Linked DNA regions of Homo sapiens: region 1 is linked to region 2. Evidence: promoter capture Hi-C in human tissues and cell types (Jung and others, 2019). All regions are on one chromosome and are shown on one strand. Each heading gives the region's core, a stretch centred on a gene start or on the middle of the fragment in contact. The rest is flanking DNA. Distances are from core to core; before and after follow the strand shown.

Region 1 (4,921 bases), core at 80-2,579, 310 kb after region 2:
CAAAGAAAAAAGGGAGAGGAAAATGTGTCTGTGTTGCCTATATCTATATCTGCTATCTCTGGCAAACAAGCAAGAAACGGGAGACTCAGGCGGGTGAACCAGGCACCGGGGAAGTCTGTAGGAGCCTTTTCACTGGGTCCTATTCTGTTTCTTCTGAATTCTGGACAATGTGCAACAAGTTGTCTAGTCAATACTATATACAATAAAGGGTTGGCATAAAGCCAAAACCCGGCAAAACTGATCTATGGCGTCAGAAGCCAGGACAGTGACTGCCCTTGGACCACAGTGATGGAAACGACGACGGCGGGAGATCCTGGGATGTGGCGCATGTTTGACTTTTTTCTTTGGATACTTGTTTACACCAGGGTGCTCCCTTTATAAATATTTATTTAAGCTGTGTATTTGCAAACCGTTCGATTTTCTGCGTTTGTGGTATTATTCCAGAAAAAGTGTTCAAAATGCAAAATACAAAGATGGCTTCAGGCCCCCGCCGTGCGGTTGAACTGGAGGCAAAAGGCCAGAGAGCAGGAGGTCGGCGCTGGGGCCCAGTGGGACAGGGGAGAGTCAGGAAGGGGCAGCTGGGACGGTGGGGAAAGTCGGGGAGAAAGGCCCCCAGTTTCTGGTCGAGCGAGGGGCATGATCTGAAGATTCATAGGGGATCCCGGGGAGGGGAACTGGTTTTTGGGAGATGAAAAATTGGGGTGAGGGTGGGTGTGTGAGAGAGAGAGATGTGAAGGGGAGGTCTGGGCTGGAGAGGGTTGGGCGTGTCCTGCGGAACGAGGAGAGATTCAGCCTGGGTGGAGGGTACCCAAGGCCAAAGGGGGCGTGGCTGGAGGTGGGCGGCAACAGGGGGCGGGGTAGGGCCGTTGATTTCCCCACCCGGTCTCGGAAACCCGGCCTTGGAGCCCGGACTTCCTGGCTGTGTGACCTTGGGCAAGTTTCTCTTTGTCTTAGCCTCAGTTTTCTCGTCGGAGAAATGGGGATTAAACCTGCCCACCCCCCAGCGCTGTTACAGAGGCGGCAGGCGCGACCCGGGGACGCTTCCAATCTCTGGCCAGCCAATTCTGGCGGGGCCAGGTGGAGTCCTCCTTCTGGTCCTGTGACCTTGGCCCGGGACGCCCAGGCAGAGCCTCAGTTTCCCCATCTGCTAGGCGGTAAGGTCGGTCTCCAAATAGCGCCAGCAGCGAGAGAGGACTTACCCGGAAGGTGCCGGGTTCGAGCCCGGAACGGCCCCTCTGCAGGTGAGGCGGGGGCACCCTCACCTCTCGGCTCTCGGACGGCCACCGCTGAGGCCTCTTGCGGGCTTCCCAGGGCTGGTTACCGTTTCGTTAGGGCTGGACACGTGGCCCACCCCCTGCACCGTCCGTTTTCCGCCCACTTGGGCCCAGCCGTCCAATCGACACTCATCATGCTCTGCCTCGCCGCTCTCTCCGGCCAATCCGCATGTGCCACTGCCTCTGCCCGCAATCGGCGCTCACCAACTCACCCCGCCCCCTGCCTCTCAACCAATCCGCATATGCAGCTGCTTTGCTCCCGCCCCAGGGGGGGCGGTGCCGGCAAGGCTGTCAGTCTCAAGAAAATGATTAGCTCGCAAAGGCGCCGTGGGGGCGGGGCAGCAGGTCGTTCTGCCAATGGAGAGCCGTAGAGGGCGTGAGTGGCGGCCGACGGGGCGGAGTCGCGCGGTGGTCTCCGAAGGCTCAGACTCTGGCTGGAGAGAGGGCGTCTCGGCCGGCCCCATTGCACAGAGCAGACCGCCGAGGCCGGGAGAGAGAGAGAGGGGTCTTACCTAGAGTAGAGGCATGTCTGCGGTTCGAAACCTGGCCCTCTCTCAAGAAACGGAGGCTTACAAAGATACCCAAGCACTTTCCAGGAAGGGGCTGGCTGAGGGAGCGATCAAGTGAGGAATTTGACGCCCCCCTGTCCTTTGCGCTCTGTGCTGCCTCAGTTTCCCCATCTGTACAGCACCTGCCTCCTCGGGTGGTGTTTAGAATAATTTAGACTCTGTGCTTGGAAATGGAGGTTGAGAGAAAGAGAGAATTTCCTATCTGTCTTGGAATAAATCCAAACTCCTCCCAATTCATGGTCGGCCTTCCTGGTCCGTGCAGACCTCGCCTCTCACCACTCCCCCTGCTCACTCCGCTCCAGCCACAGGGGTCTCCTCTTGCTCTTCCCTCAATGTCCCACCGCAGGGCCTTTGCACGTGTGCTGCCTCAGCCTGGAATCCTAGGACTCCCCATGGCCCAACCTTCCAGGCTTTCAAAGCCTTTCCTGACCACCTGGTGTCAGGTAGCCCTTCCATCAGGTCGCTGTTTTTAATTTTTTTGAAACATCAAAAAAAAGAAAAAAATTGCTCTATCACCCAGGCTGGAGTACCATGGTACGATCACAGCTTGCTGCAGCCTCAACCTCCCGGGCTCAAGCGATCCTCCCACCTCAGCCTCCTGAGTAGCTGGGACCACAGGTATGCGCCACCACACCTGACTAATTTTTTAATTTTTTTGTAAAGATGGAGGTCTCACTCTGTTGCCCAGGCTGGTTTTGAACTCCTGGGCTCAAGTGATCCGCCTGCCTTGGCCTCCCAGAGTGCTGCGATTACAGGTGTGAGCCGCCGCACCCGGCCTTGTGTTTTATTTTCTTTTCAGCACTAACTCCAATCTGAATTGGAAATGAATCTTGCTTTTTGAAAAATGCATGGATATACTCTTTTATTGTCTGTTCCCCGCCAAAACACACACATGCACACAGAACAGGGAGCTCCCTGAGGCAGGGGTCCCGTCTGCCTCGTTCACAGCTGAATCCTCAAGTCCTAGACCTGGGCCTGGCCCATAGTAGGCGCTCGATACATCTTTGGGAATAAATGACAGGAGAGCAGACATTAGGCAGAGGTGAGCCTGGGTGAGAGTGAGGGGTGGATGCCCAGATGGGGCTAGGCAGAAGGAAGGGGGAAGGCAGGAAAGCAAGAAGAGGTGGAGGTGGGGCCCCTGGGCCCAGGAGGAGACCCCTGAGGCAGTGGTCTGAAGTGGGGGTCTGGGTTGGTTTATTTTCCCAGGGGCTGCCAGGAAGGGAGTGGACAGGTTGGGGGCTCCTGGAGAGGGCTGTAGAGCCGTCGTGGAGGGGCCTCTGGCTTGTCCTGGGTTCTGGGCTGGGTTGTGATTGGCCTCATGGGGAGCTGGTCCCCCAACCCTCGGGGATCCCCTGAGAATCCCAGGCACGAGGCACCTCCCAGCAGTCCACCCAACCCCAGTCGGGAGCCACGAGATCAGCCTCTTCCCCCAGGGCATGCTGGGGAAGGGGCAGGGGGCCGCAGAAATGTGGGACCTGCCTCAGGTCCAGCTGGCCCAGGTCGCGATGGGACAGACCCGGCGCTGGCAGGGGAGCATCAGAACCAGAGGAGGGGTCCCATGGCATTGAGGCACACTCTGGGGTGAGCGCAATGTTGTCAAAGAGGTCGAGGGTAGAGGTGTCCAGGGCAGCGAGACTCAGGCTGGCGCTGGCATGGGGAGCCTCAGTGGGGGCCACAGCACAGGCCACTCCCAGGAAGGGGGATGGAGGCGGTGGGGGTGGCTTTTGGAGCGAGGGTCTCTGGGGAGGTGCCTCCTGGGACAGGATGGAGAGGGCCAGGCGCTGGGTGGCAGCCTCAATCTTGGTGAACTGCCTGTAAAGACAGATGTGAGCAGGCTGGTCTCTAACGCCTGAACTCAAGCGATCCTCCTGCCTCGGCCTTTCAAGGTGCTGGGATTGCAGGCTTGAGCCACCACCCCCGGCCAGCATATTTGCAAGGGTCACCTATGTGGTCGCATCACACCGTGCTAGTTATTTATTTTGGTGATTCCTGACCGTCCGCCACCCCCATGAAAACACAACCTCCACGACAGCAAGGAACTTTATCTGCTTTGCTAACTGGCCTGGCACACAGTAGGCACTCAATAAATGCACGTTGACTGTTGCTGGCATCCAGCCCTGGGGGCTGCTCCTCTCTGTCTGTACCTGGTCTCCCCCAGCCAAGGGTGCTGGTTGCTCCTTCCCCTCTTCCCCGTCCCGTGCCCACCTTCCCCACCAGCCCCCTCACCTGCAGATCTGGTTGTGCAGAAACCTTCTGTGGTTGGGCCGCCTCTTGGGGGGCCGGGTGCGCCGGGGCTGCAGGGCCCGCAGCATGTGGGCGGCCGCCCCGCTCACAAAGGCACACAGCTCCCGGGGGCCGGGCTCGGAGACCCCAGGGCCTTCGGGGACCCCGGGGTGCATGGCCAGGGTGGTCTGGAGTAACTCCCCACAATATTGCTGACCAAAGCACCCCCCAAATCTGTGAGCAGGGAGGGGCAGGGGACTCTGGAGGCCCAGGCACCCCGGGCTGGGGAGGAGGCAGGGCTGGGAATTGGGCCAAGGCCTCCCCACTGTGCCCTAACCCTGTCCCCACCTCCCAGGAGCCCGACCTGAAGTCTGAGGGAGCGGCAGGTGGGGGCTAATATAGGAAGGCAGGGAACAGGGAGGGGAGGGGGCTTTCTGGGGCCCTCTAAGTGCCCAATTAGCGCATAGTTGGACCTGGGATATGGACCTGGCGTGCGTCGGCGGGGGGCAGAGAATGGTGCCTGGAGATGGCCAATTAAGGGAACAAAGGCCTCGTTCGGGAGGCGAGGCCGCCAGTAAGTCAAATGCAGCGATTGAGCGTGGAGGACCCTTAATTGGAGCCGTGGGGAGGGGGCTGGGAGGGAGGGGAGCTGGGCTGCATCTGCCCACCCACCCTCAGACACACCTGTGCCTCCCTCCCTCTGCTCAGCCCAGCACCTTAGGAGGGGAAACCGAGGCTCCCAAAGGGGCTGGTGCGGGCCGAGGTCTCCAGCCAGCAGGAGGGGTTGGCTCCTGGAGGGTCACCCCCGAAATCCTGGGGCTCATAGAATCCTGAGCAGCAGAGTGAGGGAGGAGA
Region 2 (4,897 bases), core at 104-2,603:
GAGAGGCTGGGAGTCTAGACTCCTGAGTCTGAGGGAGGAGCGGGCTGGGGGCCTGTACTCCTGCGTCTGAGGGAGGAGGGCTCAGGTCTGGACTCTTGGGTCTGAGGGAGGGGGCCGGCTGTCCTAAAGCATGCATGAGGACAGACCTTGGTAGGTGTGGTCCTGGCACAGCCAGGAGGCTGCAGACCCTGCCCCCTCAGCACAGCTGTCCTCTTTTGTCTTATGACAAGTCCATGGGAACCTGATCCAGTTGGGATTAGGAAGAGGCATTTGAGAAGGGACAGTGGCCTGAAGACAATAGCTGCCCCACCCCCAGGAGCTATTTTGGGGGGATGTCATAGATGGTGAAACCGAGGACATTTCCTAAGAAGGGATTTGAGGAAGGGGGGCTTCTGGGAGAATTAGTCACCCGCATCCCCTCTCCCACTCGCCCCACCCCACTGGCTGGTTTCCTCCCCACCTGTCTCCCCTTTCACCTTCCCATACATCACGTAGGGGGCAGGGGCATAAAGGGCACCTTCTGTCCGTAGACCTCACCCTGACCCCTACATTCTTAGACCTCAAAGTCTTTGAGACACCCTAGGCCACAGGGTGCCTAGCCCCAAATCCCAATACCCACAGATTCTGAGACCCCGATTTATGATGCCCGTGTTTCTGAGGCCAGCAAGTCCTCACAGCTCTGGATTCTGAAATCCCAGTTCTTGATAGTCCAGATATGGGCCGGGACATCCTAAGACCACCCCCAGGTCTTGAGACCTCCTAAAATCTGAAACCTCAAGAATATGAGACCCCCAAAATCTTGATACCCAAACTCGGAGGCCCAGTTCATGATACCCCAGATAATGGCACTCTAAGTTTTCATGCTTTCTATCATAATGTCTCAGATTCCGAGCCCTCCACTACCAAAACCCCAATTTCTTCTGAGACCCCCCCAATTCCTGATACCCTCAGAGTCTGAGGCCCCAAATCCTGACACCCAGATTGTTTGACCTCCAAGTCCAGATATCCCTGACTGCTGAGATTTCCCCCAGATTCCCAGAACCCCAAGATCCTAGGAGGTTTTATTCTGGGACATCCAAGTCCTGGCAGCCCCGGGTTAGGATTTGTGTAACCCACAAATCCTAGTATTTTCCCCTCTATCCTGAGTCCCCCTAAAGTCTGAGCCTCTCAAGTTCCCAGACCTCCAGTTGTATGCCCCACCTACCTCTGCACCATTTCTCCACACCCGACATCTTCCCCACCTGCCTCCTGCCCCCTCCCCCAAGGACATGGTTTTTGAAGACCACAGGGCTCCGCAGAGCCCCTTACCTAGGCTGTGTCTGAGATGCTGTGAATCTTGAGGCTGAGCCTTGCTGAGGGCACTGAAGCTCCGGGGAGTTTATAGCTGGAGGCTCGGGCCCGCCCCGAGGGGAGAGGGAGGGGGAGAGAATTCCTTTGCTCAAACACAAGCCTGGGAGTTCAGAGACAGCCCTGCTGCCCCTGGCTCCACACTCAGAGTCCAGAAGCCTCCGTGGGCCCCTCCCCAACCCCATGCCAACCCCATCTGCATGGCCCAGGAGCCCCGCCCCTGCTCCCACCCCACACCCCAGGCTCCCGTGGTGCTCCAACTACCTCCCTTATAGCTCCCTGTGCTTTGACGTCCCCATGCCCGGCACACAGTAGGTCCTTGGAGGACCTACTAATGACACATGGGCTATAAGGAATGTTTCCTGTTTTCTTCTCTCTGTTCCCTCTTTCTATCTAGGTCTCTTTCTGGACCCCCATTTCTGTTGTCTCTGTGGCTCTCCATCTGTGTGTCTCTGTGTGTCTGTCTCTACTTCTTAGTCTCCTCCTCTGTCTCTGTCCATCTTTTTGTCTCCTCCTCCCACCCCCACCCCTTTGTCTGCCGCCAGGATTCCATCCTGGTGACAACAGGCACTAAAGCCGGGAAGCAGGTGTGGGGAGGGGGAGGGGGAGGGTGGGGTGTCAATTAGGGTGAAACCTACCCTCCCTCCCCACCTCCATCTAACGCTGATCTTTTTTGGTATCCCCCTCCCGCTTCCCAGCCAAGCCATGACCTTGAGTTCTAGGTTCAAGCCAGCCCTGGAGAGCAGGCTTCCTCACCCTCCCCGCCTCTCCGTACCTCTGTCTCTGGTGGTCTCGGTCTTTGTGTTTCTGTGCATTTCTCGGGGCCCCTTGCTGGGTCTGTCTTGGGCTCTCTCTGCATCTGTCGCTTTCTGAGCCCCTCAGTGTGTTTCTCGGCATGTGTCTCCGGGTGGTTTTGTCTCTGCATTTCTGTGGGTGTCTCTGCATGTCTGCCCCTCTCAGCGTTTGTGTCTGTGGGGGCTCACAGTCTCTCTGTGCATTTCTGTCCACCTATGACCCCATTTCTGTCTCTTTTTGGCTCTGGGTCTCTGTGTCTGTGTTCACGTCTCTATCTTTCTAGTTCTCTCCATGTCTCTCTTAGTGCCCGCAGTTCCCCCTCTGTGGCTCTCCATTTCCATCTCTTATAGGGTCTCCATGTCTCTGCACCTTGCTGTGAGTATATCTCTGTCTCTCTTTTCTCCTTTCTTTGCACTTCCTTCTATGCATCTTGTGGTATTTTCTCCCTCTCTCTTTGGGTCTTTGCCTGGCTCCTACTCTCTCTACTCCCAACTCAGTCTCTCTGTTGTCGGTCATGTCTCTCTGCCTGTCTGTTTCTCTGTGTCTCTCTCTCTTTGACCTTTAGTCTTGGCATCTCTGTGCACTCCACATGGGCCAGAGGAGCTGTGACAATAGAGATCAGAAGACTGATGGAATGAACTGTTTGTGGCAATAAGATACCAAATTATAAACAAGACCTAAGGCCATGCCAGGCAAGGGTTAAGCCACGCATCCCTACACTTATATAATCGACTATGTTCCAACTGCCACAAGGCTTTTCCTTTTTCTAGCAGCTAAACAAGCACCGGCCTCAAGATAAGCAATATTACAACCATTGCAGCCATCCATTGCCAGATGCTGACTAGCTGAACCCCCTGTTCCACAAGGCATAACTACAGCATTAGTTGAACAAGAGACTGATTTCAGTAACTTTCTCCTGATAAGATGCCGCAGACCACGGACTGGTTCTGGCTGTTGACAGAGGCTGTGCACTGAGTGTCTTCATATCCCTGCTTCGTGTTTCGATACGAATGCATTCAATGGAATGCACTTAAATGTTAAGCCTCCACCACCAAGTGAAGGTGGGATGCATGTAAAATGTGTTTGCGGCCAGTCGCGGTGGCTCACGCCTGTAATCCCAGCACTTTGGGAGGCCAAGGAGGGCGGATCACGAGGTCAGGAAATCGAGACCAGCCTGGCCAACATGGTGAAACCCCGTCTCTACGAAAAACACAAAAATTAGCTGGGCGTGGTGGTGCATGCCTGTAATCCCAGCTACTGGAGAGGCTGAGGCAGGAGAATGGCTTGAACCCAGGACGCAGAGGTTGCAGTGAGCTGAGATCGTGCCACTGCACTCCAGCCTGGGTGACAGAGCAAGACTCCGTCTCAAAAAAAAAAAAAAATGAGTGTTTGCTTGTCACACATGCGTGTGTCCATGTGTCCACCTGTCCATGAATATTCATAGCTCCTTCTATAACCAGTTGAATACGTGCACTTAGCTAACCCACTCAGCATAAATTCCTGCCTTGCCCTTCCCTCCCTTAAAGTGCCTGCTTTTGTTTTTTGGCAAGAAGCCATGCTTCTGGTCTTCAGGTTGTGATCCGCTTCTTAAGAAACAAAGCTCCGCTCTCCAAATTCATGAACCCCGGGATTCTTTTCAATAACACAGCCAAGAGTGCTTCACATGGGAGACCCATCTGGTCCCCAACCTGCTGTGTGGCTTTGGGGGAGCCCCACCTGCAGTCTTCCCATCTGTCTCCTGCCTAAGCCCTGGGTAATAGACATGGAGTCACTTTCAGCTCAGAGAGAAGCTTTATTCCTCAGGGCCCTCCTCAGGGCAGGGGCAGTAGGCAGGAAGGCTCAGCTCTCAAACTTTTTCTTGCGGCCCTCCATTCCACTCAGTGCATCGATGTTCTTGCGCCAGTCTCCCACCTCCCGGTTTTCCTGGAGGATGGCGATGAGTCAGAGGTTAGGGTCTCTTCTTGGTCTCCAGTCTCTCAAGAATCCCTGTCTTCCCTCCAGCCTGTGGGGCCACTCTACCCTGGATGCCTAAGTATCTAGTTCTGGAGCACTTCCTGTCTTTTCAAGATAATCCCTGCCAATTTTCCCCATGCACTTCCTGTCTCCCTCATGCACTTCCTGTCCCCCTCATGCACTTCCTGTCTTTCCCCAGCACTTCCTGTCTCCCTCATGTACTTTCTGTCTTTCCCCATCCACTTCCTGTCTCCCTCATGCACTTCCTGTCTTTCCCCTCCACTTCCTGTCTCCTTCCTGCACTTCCTATCTTTCCCCTCCACTTCCTGTCTGCCTTATGCCCTTCCTGTCTCCTTCCTTCTCTTCTTATTATAGTAGTCCCTCCTTTTCTGCAATTTTACTTTGTGTGGTTTCAGTTACCTGAGGTAAACCATGGCCCAAAAATATTAAATGGAAAATTCCAGAAATAAACAATTCATAAGTTTGATGGATTCTCAGGTCAATAGTAGCCTAACGCCAGGTCATAATGCCTATGTCATCCACCTCACCTCATCTCAGCACATAGGCACTGTCATTTTACATCACAAGGAAAAGAAGGGTGATTACAGTGCTATAAGATATTTTGAGAAAGAGACCACATTCATGAGTTTTATTACAATCTGTTATAATTGTTCTATTTTATTATTATTATTATTTGAGACAGGGTCTGGCTGCCTCATCCAAGCTGGAGTGCAGTCGTGCAATCTCGGCTCACTGCAGCCTCAACTTCCTGGGCTCAAGCCATCCTCTCACCTCAGACTCC

The links. Contacts are between HindIII fragments. The study calls those that stand out against the background at their distance.
Region 1: the fragment with the promoter of ISOC2 here is called in contact with the fragment with the promoter of TNNT1 in region 2 in 3 of the 25 tissues and cell types used here (lymphoblastoid cells, mesenchymal stem cells and thymus).

What each region holds. Positions count from the first base shown.
Region 1 is chr19:55,460,313-55,465,233 of GRCh38, forward strand. ISOC2 (isochorismatase domain containing 2) reads right to left here and starts at 1,330. Exons shown (of 6, transcript NM_001136201.2): 1 at 1,200-1,330. It overlaps C19orf85 (chromosome 19 open reading frame 85), which reads right to left and starts at 4,439. Exons shown (of 2, transcript NM_001386794.1): 1 at 4,070-4,439; 2 at 2,689-3,655. The coding sequence starts at 4,242. The coding sequence ends at 3,160. RefSeq lists enhancers at 2,715-3,437, 4,160-4,882. The HindIII fragment of the contact is 25,257 bases long and covers 1-4,921 here.
Region 2 is chr19:55,147,853-55,152,749 of GRCh38, forward strand. TNNT1 (troponin T1, slow skeletal type) reads right to left here and starts at 1,354. Exons shown (of 14, transcript NM_003283.6): 1 at 1,309-1,354. It overlaps TNNI3 (troponin I3, cardiac type), which reads right to left. Exons shown (of 8, transcript NM_000363.5): 8 at 3,915-4,065. The coding sequence ends at 3,982. The HindIII fragment of the contact is 19,018 bases long and covers 1-4,897 here.